6 separate regions of the Homo sapiens genome follow, and all the other regions are linked to region 5. The links are contacts of gene promoters, found by promoter capture Hi-C in blood cells and fetal thymus (Javierre and others, 2016). All regions are on one chromosome and are shown on one strand. Each heading gives the region's core, a stretch centred on a gene start or on the middle of the fragment in contact. The rest is flanking DNA. Distances are from core to core; before and after follow the strand shown.

Region 1 (2,700 bases), core at 21-2,520, 1.2 Mb after region 5:
TGGAAGTAAATAACTTGTTTTTTTAATTTACAGGCTCATAGGAGTCTCAGATGGGACTTTGAACTTCGGACTTGGGACTTTTGAATGATGCTGGAATTAGTTAAGACTTTTGAGGACGATCAGGAAGTGATGATTGTATTTTGCAATGTGAGAAGAACAAGAGATGATGTGGAGGGACAGGAGTGGAATGATATGGCTTAGATATTTTCTCCCCTCCAAATCTCATGTTGAAATGTGACCTCCAGTGTTTAACATGGGCCTAGTAGATGTGTTTAGGTCATGGGGCAGATTCCTCATGAGGCTTGGTGCTGTCCTCGTGATAATGCGTGAGTTCCTGCTCTGAGTTCATGTGAGACGTGATTGTTTAAAATCACTCTCTCTTGCTTCCACTCGTCATGTGATATGCTAGTTCTCATGTTGCCTTCTGCCATGAATTTATAAGCTTCCTTAAGACCTCACCAGAAGCAGATGCTGGCACCACACTTCTTGTACAGCCCACAGAACCATAAGCCAAAATAAACCTCTTTTCTTTATAAATTACCCAGCTTCAGGTATTCCTTTATATGAATGCAAATGGACTAACACATCTGATAATAGCTGAAACATCTGCTTTTCTACCTTCCTTTTTAAGATCAATCAGATCTGGGTCTATCCTTTTGCTCTTAATATTTGTTTCTTTCAAGCATCAAGATTCCATTCTCTATTTCATGGCTATCTAATTTGTCTCATAAAATCTCTATGTTTCTCATAAGGAAATCTCTCTTTTCCTCCAAAGTAATCAACTAGTTTTTCTATTTTTTTATTTTTTTCCCACTTCTTCCGTTCTAATAAGAAAACTAAAACATGCCTCTTTCACACAACTGCAATTCCTCCTGGATATTTTACACAAACTCAATTCTTAAAATCCAGGTGCTCCAAACACAGCCTTTATTCTTTCTCTTCATAGCCTTTAAGTGTGCAATAATTTTAATAACTTGTTTGTTACCTTGTTCAATTCCACTGAAGATAGAGTAGATTCTCTGTATAGTAAGCACTTGCAACTACTTTTCATGTTTTTTAATCAGATTCACTACCCCGCTGTGGGCAAAACCATAATAAGTGTTCTCTGAGTTACAAGACCATGGACAGTGCTTGTGTGATAACACAGTTCAAAGATCAAGATCAAACTGCAGTAGCTCAGCCAGTATCTACTCAGGCCAGCAGGGGCTATACACTAATGATAAAATTGTCCCATCTGCCCCAAAACAACTATTTGCTTAGGAATAAAACTGCTATGCCCTACAATAAACCCCAAAGTCAAAATCTTGCATAGCTAAAGCTGACAGCCCATAGCCCCATGCCCTAGTTTCGCTAAAAATGTCTCCAGGTGTTATTTGAGTCACCAAAATCTACTTTGTGTCTATTTATGTTCATTAGTGATAAAACTGATATTGGAGGAGGTGGTTTAAGTGCATGGCTACAAGGATCTTCCTAAGACTTAGTGCATCTAGCCTCATCCCATGGGGCTTACTGCTGTACAACTGAGGCCTTGGAGGCAAAACCAAATATCCTCAGGTAGACTCCAGAAGAAAGATAGGGGAAGTGTCTGAGCTTTGCATCTGTGCTCACATCTTCAGACCCTGCCAATCAGACAATTCCTTAAACATTTGTGAGAAAGAAAAAATGGGGCAAGAGTTCAGGAAGTTTAGGGAAAGTGCCTCCTCTTGAAGCCTGAGAAGTGAGCAACAAGTCTGTCCTCTCCAACAATACTCCAGTGGCATTTATAACTATCCGCAAGCTCTGACAGAAGTTTTTGTGGACTCAGTCTGCCATGATATGACTGCACATCAATATCTAGAACACCCGTTCTGGATTAAAGTGCAATCGAGAGAGCCTCTCTTGATAAGACTTGCATATATTCAAGGCACATAATCTCATGAAGATTGCCCTATTTTAGCTTAATTTAGTTTCAACCCCCAGCACTTTCTTATACTGATGACAGTCTATCTGATATTTGACAAAAATGATGCATTGCCAAAACATGTAATCCAGAATGTCTTCCAAATCATGCCCCAGAAAGCAATGGCTCTCGCCAAAGCTACAATTAACTAAATGAATAAGAAGCTTCCCGTAATCTTATAGAGAAACCCATCTAGATCTCCTTTTATTATTTCTGCTTCCTAGGAATATCCAGAAAACTGAACAAAATTTCTAGTACCCTTCCTCACCCCTGCAACCAGGCTCATGGCATTCTCCTTCTATTCTAGACATCCCAGTATGTATAACTGAGAGTTTGAACAACCATATTTCATGACACAATTAAGATGTAACTGTATTTTCATTACCTTCTGTGCATTGAAAGGGGGATAGTCTTACCCTGCCTTGATATCATTAATTCATCATTAGGTAATAAACAGCCTTGTGATTGCTTTAATTCACATAACATGGTCTCAATGTTGTTGTTAGACTATCTCAGTCCAAATTATTGGTCAATGCTTTAGTCTTCATTCAAATTTTAGATTTTTCCTACCTCACTCACCTTCCCATCTGTAACTCTCTGTCTGTCTGACTTTAAGCTATAAAGTATAGTCAAACTTACTCCTATCCCTTTTGCCTTCTCTCTGACTTCTTTGCTACAATTTCAGAGCTCCTTGAGATTTATATATACTTTAAGTTCTAGGGTACACGTGCACAACGTGCGGTCTTGGTGGGACTGTAAAC
Region 2 (2,700 bases), core at 148-2,647, 1.2 Mb after region 5:
TCTCTGAAGCAATGACCCAAGCTGTACCTTGGCCCCATTTAGCCAAGGCTAGAGCAGCTGGGGCACAGGGCACCAAGTCCTGAAGCTGCACACAGCAGGGGGCCCTTGACCTGGCCCAAGAAACCATTTTTCCCTCCTAGGCCTTCAGGCCTGTGATGAGAGGGGCTGCCATGAGGGTCTCTGACATCCCTGGAGACATTTTCCCCATTGTCTTGGTGATTAGTATTTGGCATCTGGTTACTTATGTAAATTTCTGCAGTGGGCTTGAATGTCTTTCCAGAAAATGGGTTTTTCTTTTTTACAGCGTTGTCAGGCTGCAAATTTTTTAAACTTTTATTCCCTGCTTCCTCTTAAGTGCTTTGCTGCATAGAAATTTCTTCCATCAGATACCCTAAATCATCCCTCTCAAGTTCAAAGTTCCACAGATCTCAAGGGCAGGGACAAAATGCCACCAGTCTCTTTGCTTAGCAAGAGTGACTTTTACTCCAGTTTCCAAGTTCCTCATCTCCATCTGAGACCACCTCATCCTGCACTTTATTGTCCATATCACTATTAACATTTTGGTCAAAGCCATTCAAGTTTCTAGGCAACTCCAAACTTTTCCACATCTTCCTTTCTTCTGAGTCCTCCAAGTCTCTAGGAAGCTCCAAACTTTTCCACATTTTCCTATCTTCTTCTGAACGCTTCCAACTGTCCCAACCTCTGCCTATTACCAGTTCCAAAGTAGCTTCCACATTTTCAGCTATCTTTAGAGCAGCTCCCCACTACCTGGTGCCAATTTACTGTATTAGTCTGTTCTCATACTACTAATAAAGATATACCTGAGACTAGGTAATTTATAAAGGAAAGAGCTTTAATTGACTCACAATTCAGGGCTCAGGAGGCCTCAGAAAACTTACAATCATAACAGAAGGGGAATCAAGAATATCTATCTTCACATGGCGGCAGCAAGCAGTGCCGAGAAAAAGGGGAAAAAGCTCCTTATAAAACCATGAGATCTCGGCCGGGTGCAGTGGCTCACACCTGTAATCCCAGCACCTTGGGAGGCTGAGGTGGGCGGATCATGAAGTCAGGAGATAGAGACCATCTTATGCTAATGCAGTGAAACCCCATCTCTACTAAAAATACAAAAAAATAGCCGGATGTGGTGGCGGGCGTCTGTAGTCCCAGCTACTCGGGAGGCTGAGGCTAGAGAATGGTGTGAACCTGGGAGGCTGAGCTTGCAGTGAGCCAAGATCACGCCACTGCACTCCAGCAAGACTCCATTACCCCCACCCCCAAAAAAACCATGAGACCTCATGAGAACTCACTCACTATTACAAGAACAGCAGCATGTGGGTAACTGCCCCCATGATTCAATTACCTCCCACCAGGTTCCTCCCACAATATGTGGGGATTATGGGAACTACAATTCAAGATAAGATTTGGGTGGAGATATAGCCCAACCATATCAAGTATAAACTTACTATTGTTTTACCAAAATGTGGAAGAAACACAAGAAAATGTGCTTATTTGGAGGATGCTAACAGGAAATAAACTGTTCCTAACTTAGCCCTCTGAAAAAGAGAATGATAAATGTATTTAGACATCCTCTTCAAAGGTAACTTTTTGTTTGCATTGTACATTTGAAAGGTGTTCACTTTGCTATTGCAGAACCAATTTGAAAAACATTATCTGGGACAAAATGTTCAATGTCCAAAGTATTAAAAGGTGTCTCCATCTATGAAAGTTAGCAAATCTATACAAGGATTCTCTATTGATGAATTTTGAAAGAGGGAGAATATCATTAGATGTTCTGGGCAGTTTATAAGCACTTATGAAATAGGAGCTACATTATTACAAGATCTTGCTTATTATTAGTGAGAAGTTATCTGGGTACTTCCAAGTAAAATGTGAAAATGTCCTCTCTACTGTCCCTAAATTTTCCCCTTATAGAACAAAAATAACATGTTTATTGCTAACTAGTTAATATATTTAAAATACTAGACAAAGTGTTTTGCTTGATTTCTTTTATACCAATGGAACGATTATTTGAGCCATTCAGTGCCTAGAACATGAAATAAAAAAGGAAAACAGACTCTCGATTAAAAAAAGTATTACATGTTACAAAAGTAATTCCAATTTAGTAGTAATAATAATTAGCTAGTTTTTAAAATACTGACTTTATTTAAAAATGTCTGGAAGATAACTTCAAGAAAAAGCTAAATATTTTTTTAAATAAAGGAAATACTTAATACTAGGGCAAAAAAAGATTTTTTAAAGGTTGTTTAGAATTTTTTAAAGTTCGATAGATTTACACAATCTAATGAAAAATAGGGAAAAAAAATACATACAGCTAATTGCTCAAGGAAAGATGAACACTGTTATGACTAAAATATGCAGTCAGTGAGAAATTCCAAAAGCTCTGGTCAGGTTTTAAAAAAGTCCCTGAAAACTTAGAAATAAAGGATCCAATAGTTTTCCCAAATTCACAGAACTTTAAAAGAGCAATTATTTAAAGGCCAGTATGTTAACATTCTGTTGCAAGAGAATTTTTTTTAAGTTTCATATGGACAAGCAGGGACAATAATCTAGAAAGATTAGATTTAAGTAAATATAATAATAAAGTCCCATACTGAAGAAAACAGAATTCTTCAATCCTCAATTGGGCTTTATATATACTTGCAATATTTGGATTCTAAATTTTGAGAAAATGAAGAG
Region 3 (2,700 bases), core at 165-2,664, 1.9 Mb after region 5:
CACAGTCATCAAGATGAGACATTACTATTAGCAATTATCTACTTAAAACAAGCAAAAAATCAAATCTCTACTCAAACAAAAATCGGCTGTTGAGAAGTCACTTTAACTGTTCTACGTATCAAATACCAACAAATTTCTACTGTGTGGCTTTCAGAAATCTAACATTCTAAGTTTACTGAAAGCAGACAAAAAAGAAACAACCTGGTGGCAGGCAAAATCACAACCAGTTGCAGTCAAGATGGGATCTGTATGTGAGCAATGAAGGGAGGAGGGCAATTTATGCGTTCAAAATTTAAAATGCCAAGGTAGGGGGAAGAGAGAGAAATAAAGATATATAGCTCCATAAACAAAGGGAGAAAACCATGTTGGGTGGGAGGCAACCTAAAATTTCTGACAGTCCAGAATCAGCAAATCGAAGGCCTGTCTCAAACAAAACAGCTTCTCACGACAAACTTTGAAGTGGGCAAGGAGGATACATTCCTTTGCACCCACAAGAACCAACCCCTTGACCACTGGCACGCTATTACTGAGTCGATCATGATTTACCGAACGGCCCGGATGATGGGCAAAAAGAAGAGTCTGCTGGAGGGGGCCTAGGATTCCAGAAGCCTGGGGAGGCACACCCTAGGCTCGGGGAAGGAGAGAGGTGGAGAGGGGCTAGCACTCCTCACCGTGATTATCTTTCTGCCCGATATTGTGCGTGCGGATGAGAGAGGAGAGTCTCCTCACATCCCCCTTGAAGACGCACTCGTGCACCGGGTAGTGTGCGGGGCAACTGCCTCCATCCGCGACGACAGCAACGGGGTTGGTGCCGGCCAGAAGGGCCGGGGACTGGGAGTTGGCAGTCACGGAGGAATTGTGCAGCGGCAGAGCCGGGGCGCCGGGGGGATTGGAGGAGGCCGGAGCTGCCTTCAGCTGTAGCCGGTGGTGATGGTTACTGAAGATCTTATGACAAGCTTTGCCGCCCTTGCCAATCCTGCTTCTGGTAAAGGTACCGCCGAGGGCAGCCGCCGCTTCCTCATCCCCGGGCTCCAGCAGGTCCCCTTCTTCTTTGCTGGGCTTGTGGTCCCTCCGCAGTGAGCGGATCTTCTCCCCGGTCATCGCCGCCGCCAGGGGCAAGGGGGGGAATCGGGAGGCTCACCGCTGGCGACGGAGCTGGCGCTGCGGCGGCACAAGGCGATTAGAGCGGTGGCCAAGAGCCTCCAGCGCAGCATGAACTCCCACTGAGCCCCCGAGCCTGGGACAAACGCATCTCCCGGGGAAGAGCCGGCTCTCGCCTAGGCACGAAGGGACGCGCGCTCGCTGGGGGAAGCTAGAACTCAGGTGCCCACGACACCAGGATCTCAGTCTCGCCGTCGCAGCCGCCGTCGCTGCCTTACACCGAAAAACAGGGCACGGCCATCTTCCTCTTGCTCCTCTCGCGAGAGCTCCCCCAGGAGTGAAGAGAGAGAAAACACCGCGATAAGTGAGCCACCCGCTCCCTCCCTCGCACCTTCTATTCCCAGAATCACTAGGCGCCGGCGCCTCCGAGGCAGTGTGTTTCCGCCCAGAGCTGGAGTCTCCCAGCTGCCAGCCGACCCCGAACCCGCACTCCCGCCAACCGCGCTTTTTGTGGGCGGTCGGAAACCACAGCCTCCGTTGGATATGTTCGGTGCATGTTATAAACAACCACTTAAACCCTCCGGATCTGAGCCTCCCGCAGAGGAATGCAGAATGACGCCACGGCACGCAGGATGTGATGTCACCGAGATGCAGAGGATACTCAGTCAACCAACATTTACTGAGCATCTACTTCGTGCCGTATGTACGAAGCTAGCAAATATGTACAGCACCAGTACTGATTGCAGGGAGCACTGTAGAAGAGGAATGAAGGCCAAACAATTAAAAGCGGAGGCGGGGAGGTGGGTTGCACACAAAAAAGGGAGGGACGAATTTTAGTGTTGAGTTGTCAGGAAAGTCATAGAAGAGTTTAGGTGCTGACTTTGGAAAATGATGGGCTGTCCAGCAATCGGAAAGAGGGGAGGCCACTCAAATATTTATTAGATGAATGAATTTCGGGCAGATGTCAGAGTTAACATATATGAGGGTGGGGACACTCAAGGAGGGCAAAGAATCGTGTAACTGAAATATAATTGTATTAGTTCATGGCCAACCTCAACCTAGTGTCAAACTCTGAAGAAACGTAAATCTGCCAACCATAAAACTTTAACAAAGTAACTAAAGCTGGCCACTGAGGACGTAAGGAGGGGGCTTAGCAAAACATCCTAAAGATCTTCACCCATTTAACTCTCCAAAGTCCCCCTATGTTCTGAGAGCAAATACTTCAGATCTCTCTCTCTTTTTTTTGTTTTTTTGTTTTTTTGACAGAGTCTCTGTAGTCCAGGCTAGAGTGCAGTGGTGCAATCTCGGCTCACTGCGACCTCCACCTCCCAGGTCCAAGCGATTCTCCTGCCTCAGCCTCCAGAGTAGCTGGGATTATAGGCCTGCGCCACCACACCAAGCTAATTGTTGTATTTTTAGTAGAGACGGGGTTTCACCGTGTTGGCCAGGCTGGTCTTGAACCCCTGACCTCAGTGATCCGCCAGCCTCAGCCTCCCAAAGTGCTGGGATTACAGGCATGAGCCACTGCGCCCGGCCAGATCTCTTCTTTCTTAAAGTTTATACTACTGCTAACTCATCTCCGCAAACAAACAACTCGAT
Region 4 (2,700 bases), core at 152-2,651, 1.0 Mb after region 5:
ATTGAACTAATAGCTATTTACTAGTCAGAAGTTTCTGGATATAAGTTCAATATCTAAAAATCAATAATAATTCCCATCTAATATCAATATCAGTTAGAAAATACAAGTTTTAAAGAAATGGTTATATTTACAATATGAAAATAATTTGTAACTAAACATAAATCTTAATGGTCAGAAAGATCATGAACTCATGAAAGAATATTTTATTATATCTAGCAATCTAACATATTCATCAGTTGTAAACCCATGCTTGCTAAAAGACAAATTTTCCCTAAATTGAATCTGTACATTCAATGCTATTCCAATCAAAATTTTATCAGGGTTTTTCAGTAATTTTTGAAAAGCTTAATCAAAAATTTGTGTTTTGGTTAACGGATGAACCAGAATAGCCAGGAATATTTTGAAGTATAATGAAGGGGAACTTGTCCTATCAGATACTAGAACTTACTATATTTATTTTATTATAGACTCATTTGATATAGTGTCACTTGTAACAGTGAAACAGAAATGGTTCCACAAGTACAGGGGAAATTGATTTATAACAAATTTTGGAAATTAGTAGAAGAAAGACCAAATAGTTAATATATGGCATTGGGAAAATCAGCTATCATATGACATAACAATGAATTATTGCTATTTTCTTCTCATTTCCAGGAAAACTCACCCAAAGAAACTTCAATGTTTTTATCATCCAGTATTCCTTTAACTTGAAGTTTTGTTTGTTTGTTTGTTTGTTTTTTGGGTTTTGTTTTTTTTTTTTTGCCTGCCAGTATACCAGGCTCTTGATCTTTCCATTTTATTTGTTTCTTTCTGATCTCAAGCTCTTCCCTAGATTTCTTGGTTGATTACATGAACCACTCTCTCATCAACACCCTCAGATTCTTCAAATTCATGGGGTTTTTTTGTTTGTTTTTTGTTTTTGTTTTTGTTTTTTTATATTCCATATGGAAAAATCCCAACCTTGGATCAATTTCACAGTTGGCCTTTTCTGATCCAGAACACTGACTGCATGGTAAAAATTACACAGTCATGCACACTGGTGCCATGTAGATTCAAATTCATGGATTTCAGTCTCAGCACTCGATCACTGTTTATATTTAACCAGAACTTTGGTTATCTCCTCTATAGGACTTTTTGGACCTTCACTATTTTTTCAGTTTTCTTCAAATCTCCTATTCTAATTACTCTCAGCAAATATCTTTCCTTCCTTCTTTAACAAAAATTTAAGGCTGTTTGGCCTGAAATACCTCGTCTCCTCTGCTGTCCACTTAGAAACATTTGACATTTTTGCGCATGCACACTTCTTTCTTCCTACCTGCCTCAGGAGCAGAGGTGGCTCTCATCCTATTCTTGATGTAGCCTTCCTTTTGTAATCTTGATCTGACCCAACTTCATGGCCTTTGGGACCTTGCTCTATTCTCCTTTCTCTATATCTTCAATAGCTTACTCTGAGTAACTCATTTCCCTCCATGTAAACATCTTCATGTCTCACCCATCAAAAGCAAATATTTCCCATCGAGGGTCTCCCCTCTAGCCACTGCCCCATTTTACTCCTTCCTCAACCAAGCTCCTTGGAAAAAAAACTGTGACACTCACTGCTCCCATTTTCTTACCTCCCACTCTTCAATCTCCTAAAACAAGCAAACAACAAACAAAAATGTCTTAACATCCCCAGGAAGTTCATGGATCATTTAGCAGTGCATCCCAATGCACTCATCTTTCTAAACTTTTCACTTGTATTTTACTTGTGGTTCATTTGTTCCTTTTTAAAACTCTACATTCATTCTTAGCATTTCAAGAAAATTTGTATCTTGAAATATTCTTTTTGTCAAAAGGTCTCTGTGATCAAGTTTAAGAGAAAAAAGCAATAGAACACTTTTTTGCAGATCTTTACATACATGATTATATTTAAGTGTAAACGCATACTTTTTTACTCCTCTGTCATAAAAATCATGCTCACTACAATATTTCCATTAGTCTAGCTTCAGGGAATGGAAAATGGAGGGAATATTTTCTCTGGAAGGAGTATTCTATGGATGAAAGGAAATCTGGTCAAATCCTGGGGAAGTGGAAATTTCGCCTCTTTGATTTCAGATAGATACTTGGAAGGACAAGAGATCCTGAAGAGGAGGAATTAAGCGACGGGATGTGTGTGGCCTGTTCTTTCATTTCCAGCCTAAAGTAGGGCTGTTTGCTATGTAGGTGAGGGGAAATTCAGGGGCAGAAAGGCCATTCTGTCATTGGTTTTAGTAGGGAGAACCTCCTGCAAAAGTATTCTGCATAACCAATGGCAACTATATTAATGTGTTTAAACAAAGTCAAGTCAGTGGCATCATGTGTTTGGACAGAGGCTAACAAGAGTTACCCGTCCAGTGTCAATTCCAGCTTGCCCTGTGGGTTTAGCAGGTGGCCAGAAGTTCCAAGTGGCCTTCGAGAGGCACGCAAAGCTGCTGGCTAGCAAGCTTACCCTACGAGTTGCTGTGACTGGGAAAAGTAACTCTGCAGTTGTAGATTAGGGTTCAGTTAAGGTACATCCAGACCTCAAGTGCTGGTGAGGACTAAGATAGGGTCGAGTTATCAGGGAAGACAACAGGCCCTGGCCAAACTCAGAAAAAACATCATATGCTCACCAGCTGCCAACTTGGATAGTAAATTTTAGCTGAAAGAGCAGTGACCAAGTAGACAAGAGAGTAATCGCTA
Region 5 (2,700 bases), core at 54-2,553:
CCTTAACCACAAAACAGGGACAAAAGGACCTAACGAATGGGCTTATTGGAATGATAAAATGATGTAATATATGTGAAGTACTAGTAAGCATTCAGTGCATGTTTTCTTTTTCAGCGTGCTTATACTACTTTCATCTAATGGGTTTTAAATAATGTGGCAGGACTACTGATTGAGGTTCCTTCCTGTCCTAAATTCTATCCTTCATATTGGTAAATATAGCCAATAACTTACTAAGTAGCAGAATCCATGTAAGATCGCCATACCAGGAAGATCTGAATTCTAGCTCTGCCACTTGCTGTTGATGTGACTCTAGAGGGCATTTAACGTCTGTGAGCCTCAGTGTGCACCTGATAAAGTAGGGCTAATAATACATGCTCGTCTGAAGGGCATTCCTAAGAGGAAAATGCTTGTTATTCTGCAGATCACAACACACTTTAAAAAACAGCATCCTCCTGGGAAACCCCTTAAGGCAAGCATGTATTAGTAACCTTTACCAATGTGGAAACAGGCTCACAGAAGGTAGGGGACTCACCTAACGTCACATAACCAGCACCACAGTATCCTATAGAACCGAAGACCCAACTGCACAAAACGCGTTAGGAGTGCTGTACGTGCAATTCAGGGACCACCAGCAGTGGTTACTGATGGGTACTCAGAAATACCGTTTTGAAACAGGCAGCTGTTATCCTAGTGCTATTCGGCCGATACATCCTGCGTTAAATTCTATGGGTTCAATAAACAAAATTGCCACATTCGGGCTTGCCCCCCACCTAACCCTACAAAGCTTTGGACCTCATTCCCAATTGTTCCCTAATTCTGAGGCGGGTAGAAAATCAGGCGAGGTGAGCGGCCAAATCGGAATATTCTAAGACGCCCCCACGGGACGCCGGCCACACCAGGCACAGGAGTCGCTCCTCATAGCGAGTCTGGTGCGGCCTACGCGCGGCGCTTCCTTTCGGACCTGAGGCCCAGACCCTCAAAATAGAGGGAGCGGTGAGTCTGGCAAGGGTTGCATACCCGCTACTTCTCCTCGCCAGCCTTTTCACTGAACCTAGGGATCCTGGGACTCATCCCTCCGACCGAGGTAAAACTGCGAACGGTCGAGGTAAAACTGCGAACAGTGGTGACTGCCGTCAGCCCGCTGACCGGTCCCGTCTATCCGAGCTGTCTTACCAGCTTGGTGGCCCGATAAGGCCCGGGAGGCACACCCTGACTCTCCATAGGTCTGTCAGCGCCCGGTGGCGTCCATGGCGGCGAAGGCGACACTCAGGCCCAGCGGCCGCGGCAGTGGCGAGTCTCGGCACAACCGTTGGCCCCGCCGCCGATTTGAATAGCATAGAGGGCTGCGCGGATTGGCCGCGCCGCGGGTCACGTGACGCCACAGCCAGGCTCGGGAAGGAGTCGGCGAGGGCCGCTCGGCTGCGTCCTGGGGCTCCAGTAGCTGGCGCGGGCTGGGGTGGGCTGGGCTGGCCTGGGACCGCCTCGATGGGACAGGCTCGGGTTTCCCTGGCGCTGTTTCTCCCTCCTGCGGTCTACGGCGAGGCGGAGTCACAGAGTCCTGTTTTCGTGCTCAGAGGGGATGAGCTCTTTAGTTCCAAACGAAATTATTTGGAGTCCAGCCTTTGGTTTAAGGGAATTTGAAATTTGAAAAGACAAGAAAATACGGTTTTTCTGCCTGGCCCTACAGGATCTTCAGCAGTTAGCTTAGAAGGCAAAGCAACCTGATGGATATGTGTCGCAGTTTCTCTCTCTGCTGCCTATCCTCTCTCTCAGCAGGTGCCATGATTCTCTGAAGTGCTAAAATCTAGGTTCAGAACCCCCTAATTGTGCAGTAAAATGGATCATTCAGAACCCCCCAGTTGGGTAATAAAATGGATTATAGGTAGTCTTTCTTAAGTACATACAATGTGGGGCTTGGGAAAGGTTGTGTACAACTTGTCAAATTGCTTCCCTTAAACTCTACCACTGTATAAGAATGTTGGTTATGTTTGGATCGTGATTATACACTTAAAATTTCACTAGGATCTTAGAAAATAAATCTTCAACAGAAGTCAATTTTCAAATGACAAAAACTACATTCCGAGAGTTGAAGAGACTTACTCAGTCTTAGGTCTCCTTGGCAAAGCACAGACTTCATGCTTTTAATAAATACCCTGTCACCAGTCTGAAACTATCTGATGCTAAGAATCCCTTAGTAAAGTGGGAGATTGCTTGAGTGATTTGAAGCTGTGGAAGAATTCACTTGGAAATTAAATAGCAGTTTAAGAGGATAGGATGCAGTAAAAAGAAGAGATAAAGAAAAATGTTCAGGGAGTGGTAGTGTAGGTCTGTGGAGTTTTCCTTAATTTGGGCAGAAGCACATCTATTTTCTACCAGGACCAGTGGGTAGGAATTTTCAAAAACATACTTGGTAAACAGGAACAATCTACTCAATTTTCCACTTATGTTAAGGAAAAGTAAAATGATTGATGTTACAAAATAATGTTAACTGTTTCTTACCTGGCTTTATGATACATTGTCCCAGGATTTTCGTTTTTCTTTTCTTTTTCCTTTCAGAAGGAAATGGAGATGAGACTGTGGAAGCCAAAATTTATTTTTGCCCAGCTCCCCAAGTTGAAAATCATCTCACATACAGCCTTTGATATAGGTAGCCACAGCTTAATAGTACCTTAATAATCCACTGTGGCTGTGGATTCACTC
Region 6 (2,700 bases), core at 145-2,644, 1.1 Mb after region 5:
AGCATAATATATCCTTTTTTAAAGATGTAATTCATTAGATGTGTGTAGAGAATAAAAGTGTAAATATAGGCTGGGAACGGTGGCTCACGTCTATAATCCCAGCATTTTGGGAGGCCGAGACAGGTGGATCACCTGAGGTCAGGAATTCGAGACCAGCCTGGGCAACATGGTGAAACCCCCGTCTCTACTAAAAATACAAAAAAAATCATCCGGGCGTGGTGGCACGCGCCTGTAATCCCAGCTACTCGGGAGGCTGAGGCAGGAAGATCGCTTGAACCGGGGAGGAAGAGGTTGCAGTGAGCCGAGATCGCGCCATTGTACTCCAGCCTGGTCAACAAGAGCGAAACTCCGTTTCAAAAAAAAAAAAAAAAAGTGTAAATATAGTACTAGCTTCATTGATATGTCTTGCTGCTTCTGGGACTTTAGAGAAGCGTATAAGAAGAAAGTGTGTGTGCCTTTACGTAAGGGAGCATATGAGAGAGAGAGAGAGAGTGTGTGTGTGTGTGTGTGTGTGTGTGTGTGTGTGTGTGTGTGTCAGAGAGAATGTTCATGGCAGGAGGAGGGGCGGTGAATATATGAAGGGAAGTTGGGAAAACCCTTCCCTTTTTGTGCACTCCCAGGGCAGCAGCCGCAACCCCAGAATGAGGAGAGGACTTAAGAGCAGGCACAAGGTTCGCTGCCATGACTGATGTGAAGCGACCTGACGCACAAGCGGAGACTTTTCTCCTTGGCAGCCAACAACCTGCAGCAGGCAAGGCGGGCGGGGGAGGAAACCCCGAGGAGGCGCTCCCGGCCGCCTCTTTGCTGAGATAGCAGGAGCAGCAGCCTGAGGAGCCACGAGCTCAGCGTCACTGAGCTAGTGCGGGTGCAGGGGCGCTCAGGCAGGCGCACAGGCCGGGAGCCGCTTCTGCCGCTCAGGCGGCCGCGCTGCAGAAAGCCGCGCCGCGCTGCCCGAGCGCCCGGGGCTGGCCCGCGAGCGGGAGGAGCCGGCAGCCGCGCTCCGCCCCGCGCTGAGATTCGTGCCACCTGCCTCGAACACCACGGAGGCGAGAGGAACCCAGAGAGCTCGGCCTCTCGTCCCGTTCTCGAAAAGCAGCCTATCGTGACGGAGCCGGGAGAAGGCTAGCGTTTCAATCCTGTGCAGGACTGGGATTTTTCTTCTCATAATTTGGGGGAGCCGGAGTAGAGGTCAGAGGGACAGGCGAGGATCTCAAAAAGAGACCGAGGGTTGTGAACATGGTTACCCCCTCCTATCATTGGAAAATCTCCTTGACATTTTTCACACTTTGAAGCAGCTGCAGCTGGTGTCGTCGGAAAAGGGGGTGGGAAAAAAGAGAGGGGGCGGGGAGAGCGGTGAGACACAGCCAAGAGCCATGAGCGGCGCCTCCTCGCCTGCCAATCCTGGCACCTGTGCGCCGAGCCACTGCACCGAGGAGGACCCTACTCCGGGTGAACACCGGGCTTGAAGCCACGGACACCCAGCCCCAGTGCAGCGGGTTCTCGCCGGCGGGACCTGCAGCCGCCCACTCGGGCCACCGCCACCGCCTCCTGCAGTTGCGGAGCGCTCAGCCCCTCCGAGACGCCCGCTGCGCCCTGGCCCCTGGGGATCCTCGCCCTGCACAGGCGCGGCAACGGGCAGGGGTTGTTACGGAGTTGGGTGCAGGATTCGCCTTTCCTGCTTGTCTCTTCTCCGCCCAGGATTTATTGTCTGTGGAGCCTTCTGGGGGCGGGGAGGGAGCTGCGCCTCCGCCACCGCCGCCGCCGCCGCCGCTGCTGCTGCGGTCGCTAGCGCGGCGCGCTGGGCAGGCTGAGGCTGGGGAGTGGACGCGCTCCTGCCTCCCCCGCCGGCGCTTCGGGCTTCCCCTCAGCCGCTTCCCGCGGGAACCTCTCCAGCCGTCCACCTGAAGGGCACTGGCATCATGGTCTAACGTGGCACCTTCCTGGATTCCCCTCTATCTCCTGTTCTTCCTACCTTCTACTCCTTCCCTCCTCTTCTCCTCCGAAGACCCTGGCGCCCACTCCACTGCGGACCCCTGAACACTTAAGGAATAACCCTTGGCAGCTGCACGACTACGCTCTCCGAAACCTCATGGGCAGTTTCTCCCGCCGGCGATGTGAGTAAGGCACGCTCGCTCCGTGGCGGAGGGTGCTGCGGGGGCCCGGCCGCGGCGACCGTAGGCGCGCGAGGTGTGGGACCCCAGAGGCCGGCCGGGGGCGGGGGTGGCAGGGCGGGAGGCTTCGGCGCTCGCGGGGAGCTGCTTGTGCGGTGGCCGAGGGAGGCGGCGAAGATGTGGTAGGTTGCAGAGCATTTGGAAATGGGGTGCTAACTGGGCGGGTGCATGGGAGCACCGAGTAGCTTGAGCTGGCAAGAGACCTTAAAGGGTTACATACTGCGAAAAGGAAAGGTAAATGTTGGGCGCTGGTGCTGGGACCATTGGTTCCGCTGAAATTAGGTTTAGCTCCTCGTTATTATCTTGGGTATCTCCAGTCAGCTTTTTTCCCAGAGGTGTCTGAGGGATGAAGCGCGTGTTTGATCGTGACACACACACACACACACTCACACACACTTGTGGCAGGACGCACTTGTCTCTTTATCTTGGAAGGTGTTGTATCAATGTCTCGATGTCTGTTTGAAAAAATACAATTAGAAGATTTTTATGTGATTGGGATTGAAGGGAAAGGGTGGGGTTTGGGGGGATG

The links. Contacts are between HindIII fragments. The CHiCAGO score rates a contact against its expected background, and 5 or more counts as called.
Region 1: a fragment that was not itself captured here is called in contact with the fragment with the promoter of DEPDC1 in region 5 in 2 of 17 cell types (M2 macrophages and M1 macrophages); the score reaches 7.7 in M2 macrophages.
Region 2: a fragment that was not itself captured here is called in contact with the fragment with the promoter of DEPDC1 in region 5 in 1 of 17 cell types (endothelial precursors); the score reaches 7.0 in endothelial precursors.
Region 3: a contact is called between the fragment with the promoter of ANKRD13C here and the fragment with the promoter of DEPDC1 in region 5, in 1 of 17 cell types (erythroblasts). The highest score is 6.0, in erythroblasts.
Region 4: a fragment that was not itself captured here is called in contact with the fragment with the promoter of DEPDC1 in region 5 in 1 of 17 cell types (erythroblasts); the score reaches 5.6 in erythroblasts.
Region 6: the fragment with the promoter of LRRC7 here is called in contact with the fragment with the promoter of DEPDC1 in region 5 in 2 of 17 cell types (endothelial precursors and erythroblasts); the score reaches 7.5 in endothelial precursors.

Annotation. Positions count from the first base shown.
Region 1 is chr1:69,696,387-69,699,086 of GRCh38, forward strand. The region is part of intron 2 of LRRC7 (leucine rich repeat containing 7); the gene reads left to right. Among named protein-coding and RNA genes, the nearest start is that of LRRC7, 130 kb to the left of the region's middle. The HindIII fragment of the contact is 1,661 bases long and covers 441-2,101 here.
Region 2 is chr1:69,730,019-69,732,718 of GRCh38, forward strand. The region is part of intron 2 of LRRC7 (leucine rich repeat containing 7); the gene reads left to right. Among named protein-coding and RNA genes, the nearest start is that of LRRC7, 160 kb to the left of the region's middle. The HindIII fragment of the contact is 3,762 bases long and covers 1-2,700 here.
Region 3 is chr1:70,353,308-70,356,007 of GRCh38, forward strand. It overlaps ANKRD13C (ankyrin repeat domain 13C), which reads right to left and starts at 1,415. Exons shown (of 13, transcript NM_030816.5): 1 at 672-1,415. The coding sequence starts at 1,101. ANKRD13C-DT (ANKRD13C divergent transcript) reads left to right here and starts at 1,504. Exons shown (of 4, transcript NR_168352.1): 1 at 1,504-1,901. RefSeq lists enhancers at 1-1,021, 281-1,199, 1,155-1,204, 1,200-2,117, 1,245-1,304 and 3 more. The HindIII fragment of the contact is 4,699 bases long and covers 955-2,700 here.
Region 4 is chr1:69,537,700-69,540,399 of GRCh38, forward strand. The region is part of intron 3 of LOC105378789 (a long non-coding RNA gene); the gene reads left to right. Among named protein-coding and RNA genes, the nearest start is that of LRRC7, 29 kb to the right of the region's middle. The HindIII fragment of the contact is 2,118 bases long and covers 343-2,460 here.
Region 5 is chr1:68,495,779-68,498,478 of GRCh38, forward strand. It overlaps DEPDC1 (DEP domain containing 1), which reads right to left and starts at 1,304. Exons shown (of 12, transcript NM_001114120.3): 1 at 1,174-1,304. The coding sequence starts at 1,221. It overlaps DEPDC1-AS1 (DEPDC1 antisense RNA 1), which reads left to right and starts at 898. Exons shown (of 3, transcript NR_110671.1): 1 at 898-993. RefSeq lists enhancers at 985-1,034, 1,145-1,204. The HindIII fragment of the contact is 3,947 bases long and covers 783-2,700 here.
Region 6 is chr1:69,566,528-69,569,227 of GRCh38, forward strand. LRRC7 (leucine rich repeat containing 7) reads left to right here and starts at 1,395. Exons shown (of 27, transcript NM_001370785.2): 1 at 1,395-2,114. The coding sequence starts at 2,113. RefSeq lists a silencer at 819-1,048. The HindIII fragment of the contact is 5,142 bases long and covers 1-2,700 here.